2 separate regions of the Homo sapiens genome follow, and region 2 is linked to region 1. Evidence: promoter capture Hi-C in 16 types of primary human blood cells and fetal thymus (Javierre and others, 2016). All regions are on one chromosome and are shown on one strand. Each heading gives the region's core, a stretch centred on a gene start or on the middle of the fragment in contact. The rest is flanking DNA. Distances are from core to core; before and after follow the strand shown. Region 1 holds the start of ELMO1-AS1 (ELMO1 antisense RNA 1). Region 2 has its middle 94 kb from the start of ANLN.

Region 1 (5,870 bases), core at 1,002-3,501:
GTTTTATTTAGTTGAGATATAATTTTGCAGGCTGCTCTACTCACATTTAATATACTACAAAACATGTTTCTGATATTTAGATACTATTCATGAATATCATTCTGAATGAGTAAAAAAAATTTTAACAGATAAATAAATGTATCCATAAATTAATTTATCAATCCCCACTGTTGAATAGTTGGGCTATTTTCAATTTCTCACTCGTAAGTAACAATGAAATGAACATCTATATGCACATCTTTGTTTTCCCCCCTTGAATGACTATGATTCTAAATGGCTGTATTATACAAATGAGATAATCTACAAATGAGATAATCAATGTTGGTGAATTTCCAACATTGAGCCAAAGGATGATGAGCCAAAGGAACCTTGTCTCCTCCCCATGCAGAGGGGTGTAATTGACCTCACAAACAGCTGGAAGCCAGGGATCTCCAGACTCAGCCCAGCGTGGTTTGGGAAGGGAAGTCTTTGCCATCATCTCAGCCCTGTCTGTGTGGGAGCACATTCCAGCATGAAAAATCAATTGGCTTTTGTCAGACAATAAATATCACCAAAAGAAAATCCAAAGACGTTTTTAAGACAGAAAAAAATATTCCCTTTCCTTTTCTTTTGGAAATAGCTTAATTTTTTTCATCTTGGTCTTAAAAGAAATCGCCACTAGAAGAATCACTCTTTTTCCTGTCATAGCCACACAATGCCCTTCAATGCCAAACTGAGTCCATAAGACTGTTTGTTCTGTAGATTGCAAAGTTTGTCCTAGAGTGTGCTTTTTCCTTTTAAGACCTTATCAGCTGATTTAAAAATAAACATTATTAGCTATTTTTTTCAACAATAGGATAAAAATTCAATTTAAGTAACATTTGTTAAGCTCATATATATTTCTTTCTTTTTGGTAGGCACTCTGGGGTAGAAAGGTGAGTGAGAATCAGTCCTGGTTCTTAGGGGTAGAGTCAAGAAACAGAGAGAGTAGATATGATTTTCAAGCCTTTGGAATTCTGCAGCATTGCCTCAAGGTAGCCATGAGGTGGGACAGAGAATGAATGGGAACCCATTTAAATCAAAGATAATTGGCTAAAATAAGTTTCCGAACTTAGCATATAGCTGAGTAAGTTAAGTGCTACAAGAGAGGGGAAGAAAAGTGAACATAAGAGGGAAAATTCCTCCTGTCCCCATGGAGGGACTTTGCAGGGCCCATGAGTTGGGCCTTGAAGGACAGGCAGATTTTTCACCGGAAAGAGTGAAGGTTCCTCCTTGCTGAGGGAACACAATCAGGGACAGATACTGGGAAGTGCAAGGCATGCTGGGCACTCAGTATGACTAACGATAGGTTAGTAGGAGGTGTGCTGCTAGACGTAATAGACATGTTGTTTGGAAGAGTGGTTTAGGACAGAATGTGGAGTTTTTCTATCCTGCTGGAAGAAGAGAGAGCCAGAGGTTTTTGAAGACAGATGTCTCATGAGAAGAGCTGTGTCCTAGAAAGGTGTTTCTGGCAGCTAGGGGAGAGAGAACTTAGGCTTGGGTCAAGTCCAGATTTAGGAAGACCAATTAAAAAACAAACACATCGTCTACACAAGAGATGATGGTGGCGGGAAGGCAGGATACAGAACAAACTGAGTCCATAAGTGAAAGGCACAGGGTGGCTAAGCTATGACAGGAGAAAGTGATTCTTGAGAGGAATGATTTCTTTTAAGACCAGAAAAAAAATTTAAGCTATTTCCAGGAGAGAAGGAAAATGATTTTGTTTTTTTCTGTCTTAACAACACCTTTAGATTTTCTTTTGGTGGTATTTATGGCCTGACAAAAGCCAATTGATTTTTCATGCTGGCATGTGTTCCTGCACAGAGACTGGGGCTGAGATAATGGTGCAGGAAAGTGGAGTCACAGCATTAAAAGGCAGGTGGCCCTTCTCATAGAGTGGTGAATCAGTAGGACTTGGGGACCTACTAGAGAGAAAAGGTAGGGAAGCCAGAGATCTCTCCTGGATTTCAAGTCCAAGATATGGGGTGATTGTGGTGTCACTCCTGGAGTTAGAGCCCACAGAAGCAGCAGCAGGAACGGAGCCATGAGAATGGAGAGTTTAGCTTTGGACATCCCGAGTTTGAGGAGTCTGCAGACCATCCACAGGGGTGGAGCTCAGAAGACGATGAGGGTGGAATTCTGTCTGCCTCAGGTGCTGGTTGAAGGTGGGGAGGAGGCAGTGGTAGGAGAGGAAAAGAGGAGGGCCTCAGGGAATGCCTGTGCTAAAGGGGTCAGTGCCATGGGAATGAGGAATGGAGAGGATCCCAGGAAGCACAGGAGGCAACACAAGTCAATGCCTCAGAGCCAGGGAACAGGATGAACAAGAACAATCAGAAGATGACCTTGAGCTAAATGAAGCAATTGCAGCAGGTGGGTGTGGGTGAACATCAGACCACGTCGAGGTGAGGAGGTGGGAAAGTGGAGATGTCATTCTCTCCCGGAAAATTTGGCAGTGCAGAGACGGACAGAGATTGGATAAGAACTTGAAAGAGGAACAGGGTTGGAAAATATTGTTTAAGGAAAGGAATGATTTTGGTATATTTTTAGGCTGAAGAGAAGAGATGGGGGTGGGGGAGGATGCGAATAGCATGAAGGTGTAAGGGATAAAAGATGTATTTTTATAAATTTTTTGATGTCTCTCTTCTTCATCAGAGCAGGGATTCAGAACAATGTGACTTCTTTCCAGTCTTAAATTTAGAACAACTCAACGACTCCTCTCAATTCCCACTTGCCTCTTAGAAATCATGTCTTTTGTGGCTACAGAGGTTTTCAAGTATTCAAAATATATATTAATGCACTTTGGAGTCGTATTTCTTCTCTTGAGCTCAGTTATATTTTTAGTTATCCTTTAATTTTTTTTCTAAAAATGTTGCTAGTAACTGGAACAATAATAGTTATTTTATTTCTTCCACGTATATTCAATGTGCCATTTGTACATATATCTTAGGTGCATTGTATACATATATAAATATATATATGTCTGTATCTATATCTGTATATCTATATCTATCTTGCATGTATGTTCATTTCCAAAGTCACAGTAAAAAAAATTTTTAAGGAGAGAGTGGTTCACAGGGTCAAGGGCTACAAAGGTGGCAAACAAGATTGAGATTTAAAACTGTCCACCGGAGGCCATTCTTTGTCAAAATCAGTGACTTTTGTGGCTAAAGAGGTTTTCAAGGACTGACACTATATTTTAGTGCTTTTTAGAGTCCTATTTCTCTTCTTTTGCTCAGTTATATTCTCGGTGTGGGCAGAAGGCAGGCTGCAGTGGATTAATACATGAAAAGGCGAGCTGGGAAACTGAGGCAATGACTTCAGAAACCGAGCTGCAGGGGCACAGGTGAATAGGGGGTTGAGAAAATCATTTATTTATTATTAAGAATGTGGGAGATTTGTGTGTGTTTATATTCTGGTGAGAAGACAGCATGTGAGAGGAAGAGACTAATGATGCAAAGATTAGAAATGATAACGGACAGAGCCCCAGAGCAGGTGAGAGGGGATGAAATTCAAAGCACAGAAGGAGGCCATCCCCGGGGCCACAGCATTGTCTAGGAGGGAGGGTGGTGAGTGCAGGATAGGAGAAAAGCCCCGGGTCACGCAGGAGGTCACAGGCAGAGCTGGACTAGAATCCATGCCTCTCCATGCCTCATCTGGAGCGCCATGTGTGCTGTGTGATCTTCGTGTCATTTCCCTCATGGGAATGGCCCCAAATGCTTTTCATTGATTAAGATGAGCAGAACAGAACTACAAATTTTGCCATTCAGACGTGGTCCAATATTGGCCATTTCATGTGGTTCCACCTAATCTTGGTTCATTTCATCCTCAAAACAACTCCATGACGATCAGTCTCTAGACGAAGAGACCGGGATACAGGGCAGGGCAATTAACCTGCTCAAGCTCACCCAGCAAGGAAACGAAGGAGCTAGGGTGTGAATCCCACTCCTTGGGTCCAGGGCCAATGCTCCTGACTTAGACTTTACTACAACTTATTATGGTGAGTTAAATGATCACAGAATAAAGAAAGAGAAATAGGTACTGTGAATAATAGAAGAAGACTGTGTCAGAAACCAACAGTAAATGCTTATGGGTAAATACAACTGATTCCACGAATGTACAATAATTTTTGGTTGAGCCATTTGAAATTGCTGTATTTGTCAGACAAAAACAGTCCAATACTGGCAGTTGCATATGGCTCCATGTCATCTTTGTGTGTGTGTGTGTGTTTGAATCTGCAAATCTCTCTCTTGATTTCTCAGCCATGCAGGGGAGCAAAGGCTGAGGCTGCATCTGTGGCAGCTTCAGGTCTCCATTATCAGCCTAAAAGCTTTTATAACTTGAAAATTTAATGAATAAAAAATTCTGGTAAACTGCATCCAAAAAACATTGATTATCTTTTACTCACAGCCTTTTTTTTCTGGTACATGCACAAGCAAATTTTTATTCATCTGATTCCCTGACCGACCAGCATCTGCTCAGCTGAGGCTTGGAAGCAAATGTCCAGGCTTGCCCAGTGCCAAAACCACAATAAAACAAGCCAAGAACCTTTTTCAAACACACGTTGGGGCAAAAGTATGTCCATTTTATATATACTTGTTGTGGCAATAAATACATTTTAATAGGAAAAGCATCTCTGTGTGATGCGTGGGTCTTTTCCTTTTCTACTTCTGCTTTAAGAACACATAGTGGCCAGGGAGCTTTCGGACAGAATCCCGTGCTCTGTGATTCACAAAATGGAAATCTGGCATTATATGCCAATGACATTTACTTCTGTGGCAGCTCAAGCGGCAAAAAGCCATATGCCATACACCTCGGATCCAGCCAAGCCACGCAAACAAATATGTGAAAGAGAAAGAAGGAAAATAGGACCAGAAGAGTTCTGGGGAGCTGATTGCCTCCAGCACTTAAAACTCTCACTGTGGCAAGAACTGGGTCTTCCCACTCTTATGACATTCTAAGGGGGATGCATTTTTTCCCCCCAATTTAAGATAACTTCGGGAGGTAAAGGTAAAATACAAAAGATAATTTTTGTGAACGGCATGATGTGTTCACACATGTGATTCAACATTCCTGCTGCACAAGCACGTATTTCCTAGGCATGCTTGGCTAAGTACCAGTCCCCTACATGGGATGGAAGGTTGACAGTCACATTTGTCCTTTGCACTGGAAGGTCTCTCGGCAGCCATCCTGGGAAAGAACAAGCGCCATTACTGATGTTATTTTTCCCACTGGCCTGGAAACAAGGCTAGTGGGAAAAACAGTGCTCCTGGAATGGCCAGGGTATGTGGGTTAAGCAGGCTTAAGGGCAATATAATAAATGAGTGAAGGTGAAAATGAAACAGAGGGATATATACATATATATATGTATATGTGTATACACACACACACACACACACACACACGTTTTTTAACAAGGAGTTCCAACCAATCTTCTTGGAAAAAGAACAATTCAGTTTCTTTTGCAAAAGTTCAATGTCTTTGAAGCTTTCTATTCACCTTATATAAAGCTACATAGGCAGAAAAATAATGACAACTGCCATTTTTATTAAGAAACAGATGGCAAAATCATTTCATAACTTCCTCAGAGTATTAGCATCTGAAGAGATTCTGATGGAGGGGTCTAGAAGTGTTTCTCAATAAGGCCTGTTGGCATTTGGGGCAAGAAAATTCTTTATTGTGTGGAATTTCAAAATACCCATGGCCTTCAGGAATTGAACAACGGTGGCCACCCCATATTAAGACGGTGTATATGAATTCAGCTTACTGGTCAGGTGGACCATTTTTAATGATCATTGAATTAAACATTTCTGGCCATTAATTAATTCAACACTCAACACAAAGTATTTGAGCAG
Region 2 (5,870 bases), core at 1,060-3,559, 510 kb before region 1:
TAGGGTTTCTGCTGAAATGTCTGCTGTTAGCCTGATGGGATTCCTTTACAGGTAACTTGCCCCTTTTCTCTAGATGCCTTTAACATTTTTTTCTTTCATTTTTTTTTTTTTTTTTTTTGGAGAATCCAATGAGTACGTGTCTTGGGGATAGTTGTCTTGTATAGAATCTCACAGGGCTTCTCTGCATTTCCTGTATTTGAATGTTGGCCTCTTTAGTGAGGTTGGGGAAATTTTCATGGATGATACCCTCAAATATGTTTTCCAAATTGCCTGTTTTTTCTCCCTCTCTTTCATGGATGCCAGTAAGTCATAGATGTGTCTCTTTACATAATCTCATATTTCATGGAGGTTTTCATTATTCTTTATTGTTTCTTAAAAATTTTTGTCTGACTGAGTTATTTCAAAGAACCAGTCTTTGAGCTCTGAGATTTCAAGATTTTTTTTTTTTTTTTTTTTTTTTTTTTTTGAGACAAAGTCTCACTCTGTAGCCCAGGCTGGAGGACAGCGGCACAATCTCAGCTCACTGCAACTCTGTCTCCTGGGTTCAAGCAAGGGTTGTATCTCAGCCTTCTGAGTAGCTGGAATTATAGGTGCATGCCACCATGCCCAGCTAATTTTTGTATGTTTAGTAGAGACGGGGTTTCACCATGTTGCTCAGTCCGGTCTCAAACTCCTGGATTCAACCAGCCCACCAGCCTTGGCCTCCCAAAGTGCTGGAATTATGGTATGAGCCACCATGCCCAGCCAGCTCTGAGATTCTTTCCTCAGCTTGGTCGATTCTGCTGTTAATACTTGTGATTCTGTTATGAAGTCCTTGAAGTGAGTTTTTCAGCTCTATCAGTTCAGTTTGGTTCTTTCTTAAAATAGCCATTTTGTCTTTTATCTCCTGTATTGTCTTCCTGTATTTCTCACAGTCCTTGGATTGGGTTTTGACTTTCTCCTGAATGTTGATGATTTTCATTTCTATCTATATTCTGAATTCTATTTCTGGCATTTCAGCCATTTCAGCCTGGTTAAGAACCATTGCTGGGGAACTAGTGTTGTTATTTGGAAACAAAAAGAACTCTGGCTTTTTGAGTTGCCAGACTTCTTGCACTGGTTCTTTCTCATCCGTGTGGGGTGATGTTCCTTTAATCTTTGAAGTTGCTGTCTTTATGTGTGTTTTTTTTCTTTTATCTCCTTTGATGCCCTTGGGGGTTTGATTATGGTATAAGGTGGGTTTAGTCAACTTGCTTTGATTCTAGTCCACTCTTGGATCTTGGAGGAGCCCCTTCTGATTACTGTCTCTATATCCACGTTTTGTTGTTGGGTGTTCTGGTACATGGGGCTCCCTCAGGCAGGGGCCACAGTTGGCCAGCTGGCTGTATGCTTTCTGGGTTGGCCTTAATTTGCTGTCTGAGTGCTTTCTGGCTGGGAGAAGACAGGGTTGTGCCTGCCCACAGAGTTCAGGCAGAAGCAGGACTACTGGGCTTGAAGCTCTAGCAGGCCTGGCTGGCCTGGCTATGAGAGGCAGGGATGGGTGGAGTCACCTACTCTGCCATTTGGGTGTTCTTCCTAGGACGACAGGAGGCTGTATCTGCCAGCTAAGTTCAGACAGAAGTGGGACCACTGGGCTGGAAATTCTAGCAGGTGTTGCCCACCTGGCTACCAGCAGCCAGGGGGTGGGTGGGGTCACCCATCCTGCCACTTGGGCATTTCCCAGGACAGTGGGAGGCTGCACCTGCTGGCTGAATTCAGACAGAAGTCGGACTGCTGGGCTGGAAGCTCTAGCAGGCATTGCTTACCTGGCTATCAGTGGTAGGGGTGGGTAAGGTTGCCTACCCTGTCATCCAGGTGATTCCCAGGATAACAGGAGGCTGTAGCTGTCAGCTGAGTTTGCACAGAAGTGGGACTGTTGGGCCAGAAGCTGGTGCCAAGCTCCATCTGGCGAGGGGCAGGTAGAGCAATCTTACTGCTCCCAGGCACCATGACTGTGGTCTCTATTGAGGCTATGGCACTGGTACTGGTCTGCTCTGGGGTCTCAGGCCTGGAGAGGTCCCCTTGGACTCAAGAGTTGCCCCTGCGAAATGTCCAGGTGGTTCTCTGCCTTAGTCTTGAAGTGCAGTGGGGGGTGTGGGAAGGCCAGGAGAATTCTCCCATTCTCAGTTTTGCACAGGTCCTCGTGGAAAGTGTGAATCCCTCAGGGGGCTCTCACTCACTCATCCTTTCTGGTATTGGAGAGATTCTCCTGGCTCTGCACTGAGCCCAGACAGGCTGGTGCCCAGTTCTGCTCTCTATGTTTCTTGGCTACCTTGATGGATCCCAATGTGTGTGTGTGTGTGTGTGTGTGTGTGTGTGTGTGTGTGTGTGTGTTTAGATGGAGTCTTGCTTTGTTGTGCAGGCTGGAGTGCAGTGGCACCATCTTGGCTCACTGCAACCTCTGCCTCATGGGTTGAAGCAATTCTCCTGCCTCAGCCTCCCGAGTAGCTGGGACTACAGGCATGTGCCACCCAAGCCCAGCTAATTTTTGTATTTTCAGTAGAGACGGGGTTTCACCATGTTAGCCAGGTTGGTCTCAAACTCCTGACCTCAGGCAATCTGCCCACCTCGGCCTCCCAAAGTGCTGGGATTATAGTCATGAGCCACTGCACCCGACCACAGTGTAGTTTTTCAGATGACTGGCCTGCAGGGTCAGTGTTCACTAGCCCTTTTGTTTCCTTTCTGTGAGAGTGGTGCACATGAGCTGCTTCTAGTCTGGCATCTTGGTCCAGTTCCATCTTGGTCCAGTTCCACTCTATCCTTCCTGGCTTCATTCATTTGCATCGTTGTTAACATCCCTTCTCAACAAAACTAAAGGATCTCCCTCAAGATGCACATTCCTGAGAAGTCAGGGAGTGTGTGTGTGTGTGTGTGTGTGTGTGTGTGTGTGTGTGTGTGCATGTGAACGCATGCGTGGACATATGCATTCATCATAAATAGACTGTAAGTCCCACTTAACTATATCACTATATTAATTTGCTCATTCCCTTGGTAAAATTCTTTGGTAACCATCAGAGGCTAGTGGAATGCTCCCTAACAGGTGTGTGCATTTCTGTTTCTACAAGCAAATGTCAGAAGAGTCAATAGTGTTTGCTCCCAAACGTGATCGTACCAGTTGTAAATGACATACTGTAAATGTCATAGTTAAACATTATATAAACTGAAAGTGTGAAAATGAAATTTTTAAACAATAACTCAGAGATTCTATAAAGATTAACTGCCGAGCGCAGTGGCTCACGCCTGTAATCTCAGCACTTTGGGAGGCCAAGGCGGGCAGATCATGAGTTCAAGAGATCGAGACCATCCTGGTGAAACCCCATCTCTACTAAAAATACAAAAATTAGCTGGGTGTTGTGGCACGCACTTGTAGTCTCAGCTACTCGGGAGGCTGAGGCAGGAGAATCGCTTGAACCCGGGAGGTGGAGGTTGCAGCGAGCTGAGGTTGCGCCACTGCACTCCAGCCTGGGTGACAGGGTGAGACTCCGTCTCAAAAAATAAAAATAAATTAAAAAAAAGAAACTGCGGCCATATTAAGTACAAAAGGGAAAAAGAGTAGAAATCTAGAAGAACAATGCTCTGAGATTACTTCATCAGTTTCTTTAAATTTAGTTCTCTTTAGAGACCTGGACAGTGCACATTGTTTGTTTACATAAGGAAGAGGTTATATAATTCATTCTACAGACTCCTGCTTAAAGAAAAGGGCTGTGCTTACAATACATGTGATGAATAAAAAGGAATATTTGAGCTGTGTGTGTATGCAATCTCTTATTTTGCTTTCTCACTTGATGTGACTTTTTCAATTAATTGATTGCATTAGATAAAAGGGCTTCTTCTGAATTTTAATTTTAACACTTTCTCCTGTCACAGTAAGGTTGTGTACAATAAATTCTGTTTTTAAGAAAAGGAATGTTTTGAGCTCACTGGCTGGAAGTGTTTTAGAAAAACTCTTAAGCCTGGTCATAAAACTAACTCTTGAATTCCACTGTTTGTCTCAGAGCAGTGGCAAGAATAGCTGAAAAGTTAAGCAATAGGTTTGACAACAAAATAGGTAAGTCATCTCAAGCGACTCTTGACATGTTTCAAATGCAGAACATATCAGGGTTGGAAGATATTGTCATTGCTGACCTTGACACACTGGCTAGTGGGAATTAATTTATAAAAGGTAAATAACCAAGGACTCTCGGATAGGACTCCATCCCTTTTTCCTTCCCTCCCTCCCTCTCTCTTTTAACATAAATAGTTTATAACCTCCATTTGTCTTAAGGCATAAGAAGATCCCAGACCTATTCCTGATGGCCAATACAAACACACACAGTGATCATATTCCTGGAACTAGAAGTCCAGAAAACTGGTTTACCAGTGAGACAGAATATTTGAAATTGGGACATTAATTTTACTTTTTGTTATGGATTTATGTAAATAAAGTTTTGTGACTATTGCTAAAATTACTGAGAATATAAATTTGGACCCTGCCTGGAGGGTTACCTGTAATAATTTTTATTCTTTCCCTGAGTAAGCCTTTGGTGGTGAGAGACAACTCTCTTAGCCAAAGGAGAATTCAAAGTCTCACTCCAGGATCTGCAGATAAGAGGCTGTTAGGAAGTGGAAAAGAGCATCATGGGAGATTCGTGTTTTTACAAAGGCTCAGGACAGTGGCTTCTCAGACAACAGGGCCCCTCCCTTGGGCTCCAAGCTTTGGACTGCCTCCCTGCCCCCCTCCTCCAGCCCATCTCCAACCTTGCACCTCCTCTGCAAGGCCAAGGGGACATGACCACCCAGGGCCTGCGTTTCCCTTTCTGGACCATGTGCAGGTATCTGGTCCTCAGAATTCCCCACCCAAATGGCTGGAGTCTGCTTCTGGGGCTGTGTGGGCCTCTTTCCTGGATGGAAGGATAACCAAGATCCCTAACCCTGAGAGGTCACTTAATTACTAATGGACAGCTTCCATAGTTTTTGTCCGTGTCCAACTTAAGACCAACCAGAGAAAGCCAAATATGTTTCCCTAACCAATCACATAGGATGCCCTGCTTCTTCCTAACCACCTCCAGCTTCCCCATGCCAACAGCCTCTAATCAGGGCACACTGGAGCATTCCCCATTTTTTTCCCTGCTATAAAGCCTTCCTCTGCCTGCCTTTGAGTCTCTGCCAAATTCGAGTGACAGTAGCTGACTCCCTTGCTAGAGCAAGTTCTGAATAAATAGTCCTTCTCTGTTCTCCTTTGGGTAATCTTTGTTTATTTCCACAATTGCCACAGTTTTTCAGTCTCCCTGATTTTCATATCTAGGCCGAAGGCGAAGAATGATTAATCAAAATATTTGTGTCTTTATTATTTATTTAATACATTTAAATGTTATGTAAAATTTTCTGAGGAAGAGTGAAAAAATTAAAAGTATTGACTGTTGGGAACCTAATTATATATATATATAATTGATTGCATTAGATAAAAGGGCATATATATATATATTTATATATATATATATTTATATATTTATATATATATATATTTATATATATATATTTATATATATTTATATATATATATATTTATATATATTTATATATATATTTATATATATTTATATATATATTTATATATATTTATATATATATTTATATATATTTATATATATATATATTTATATATACATACTCAGAAGAAGCCCCCTACCTTTGTTTTTTGAGACAGGGTGTCGCTCTGTTGCCCAGGCTGGAGTGCAGTGGTGTGATCTCGTTTCACTGCAACCTCAGCCTCCCTAGTAGCTGGGATTACAGGCATGTGCCTCCATGCCTGGCAAATTTTTGTATTTTTAGTAAAGACAAGGTTTCACAATGTTGTCCAGGCTGGTCTCGAA

The links. Contacts are between HindIII fragments. The CHiCAGO score rates a contact against its expected background, and 5 or more counts as called.
Region 2: a contact is called between a fragment that was not itself captured here and the fragment with the promoter of ELMO1-AS1 in region 1, in 1 of 17 cell types (M1 macrophages). The highest score is 5.4, in M1 macrophages.

What each region holds. Positions count from the first base shown.
Region 1 is chr7:36,995,545-37,001,414 of GRCh38, forward strand. ELMO1-AS1 (ELMO1 antisense RNA 1) reads left to right here and starts at 2,252. Exons shown (of 3, transcript NR_104120.1): 1 at 2,252-2,388. All of the region lies in intron 16 of ELMO1 (engulfment and cell motility 1), which reads right to left. The HindIII fragment of the contact is 6,356 bases long and covers 1-4,343 here.
Region 2 is chr7:36,481,360-36,487,229 of GRCh38, forward strand. No RefSeq gene overlaps it. Among named protein-coding and RNA genes, the nearest start is that of ANLN, 94 kb to the left of the region's middle. The HindIII fragment of the contact is 4,800 bases long and covers 1-4,709 here.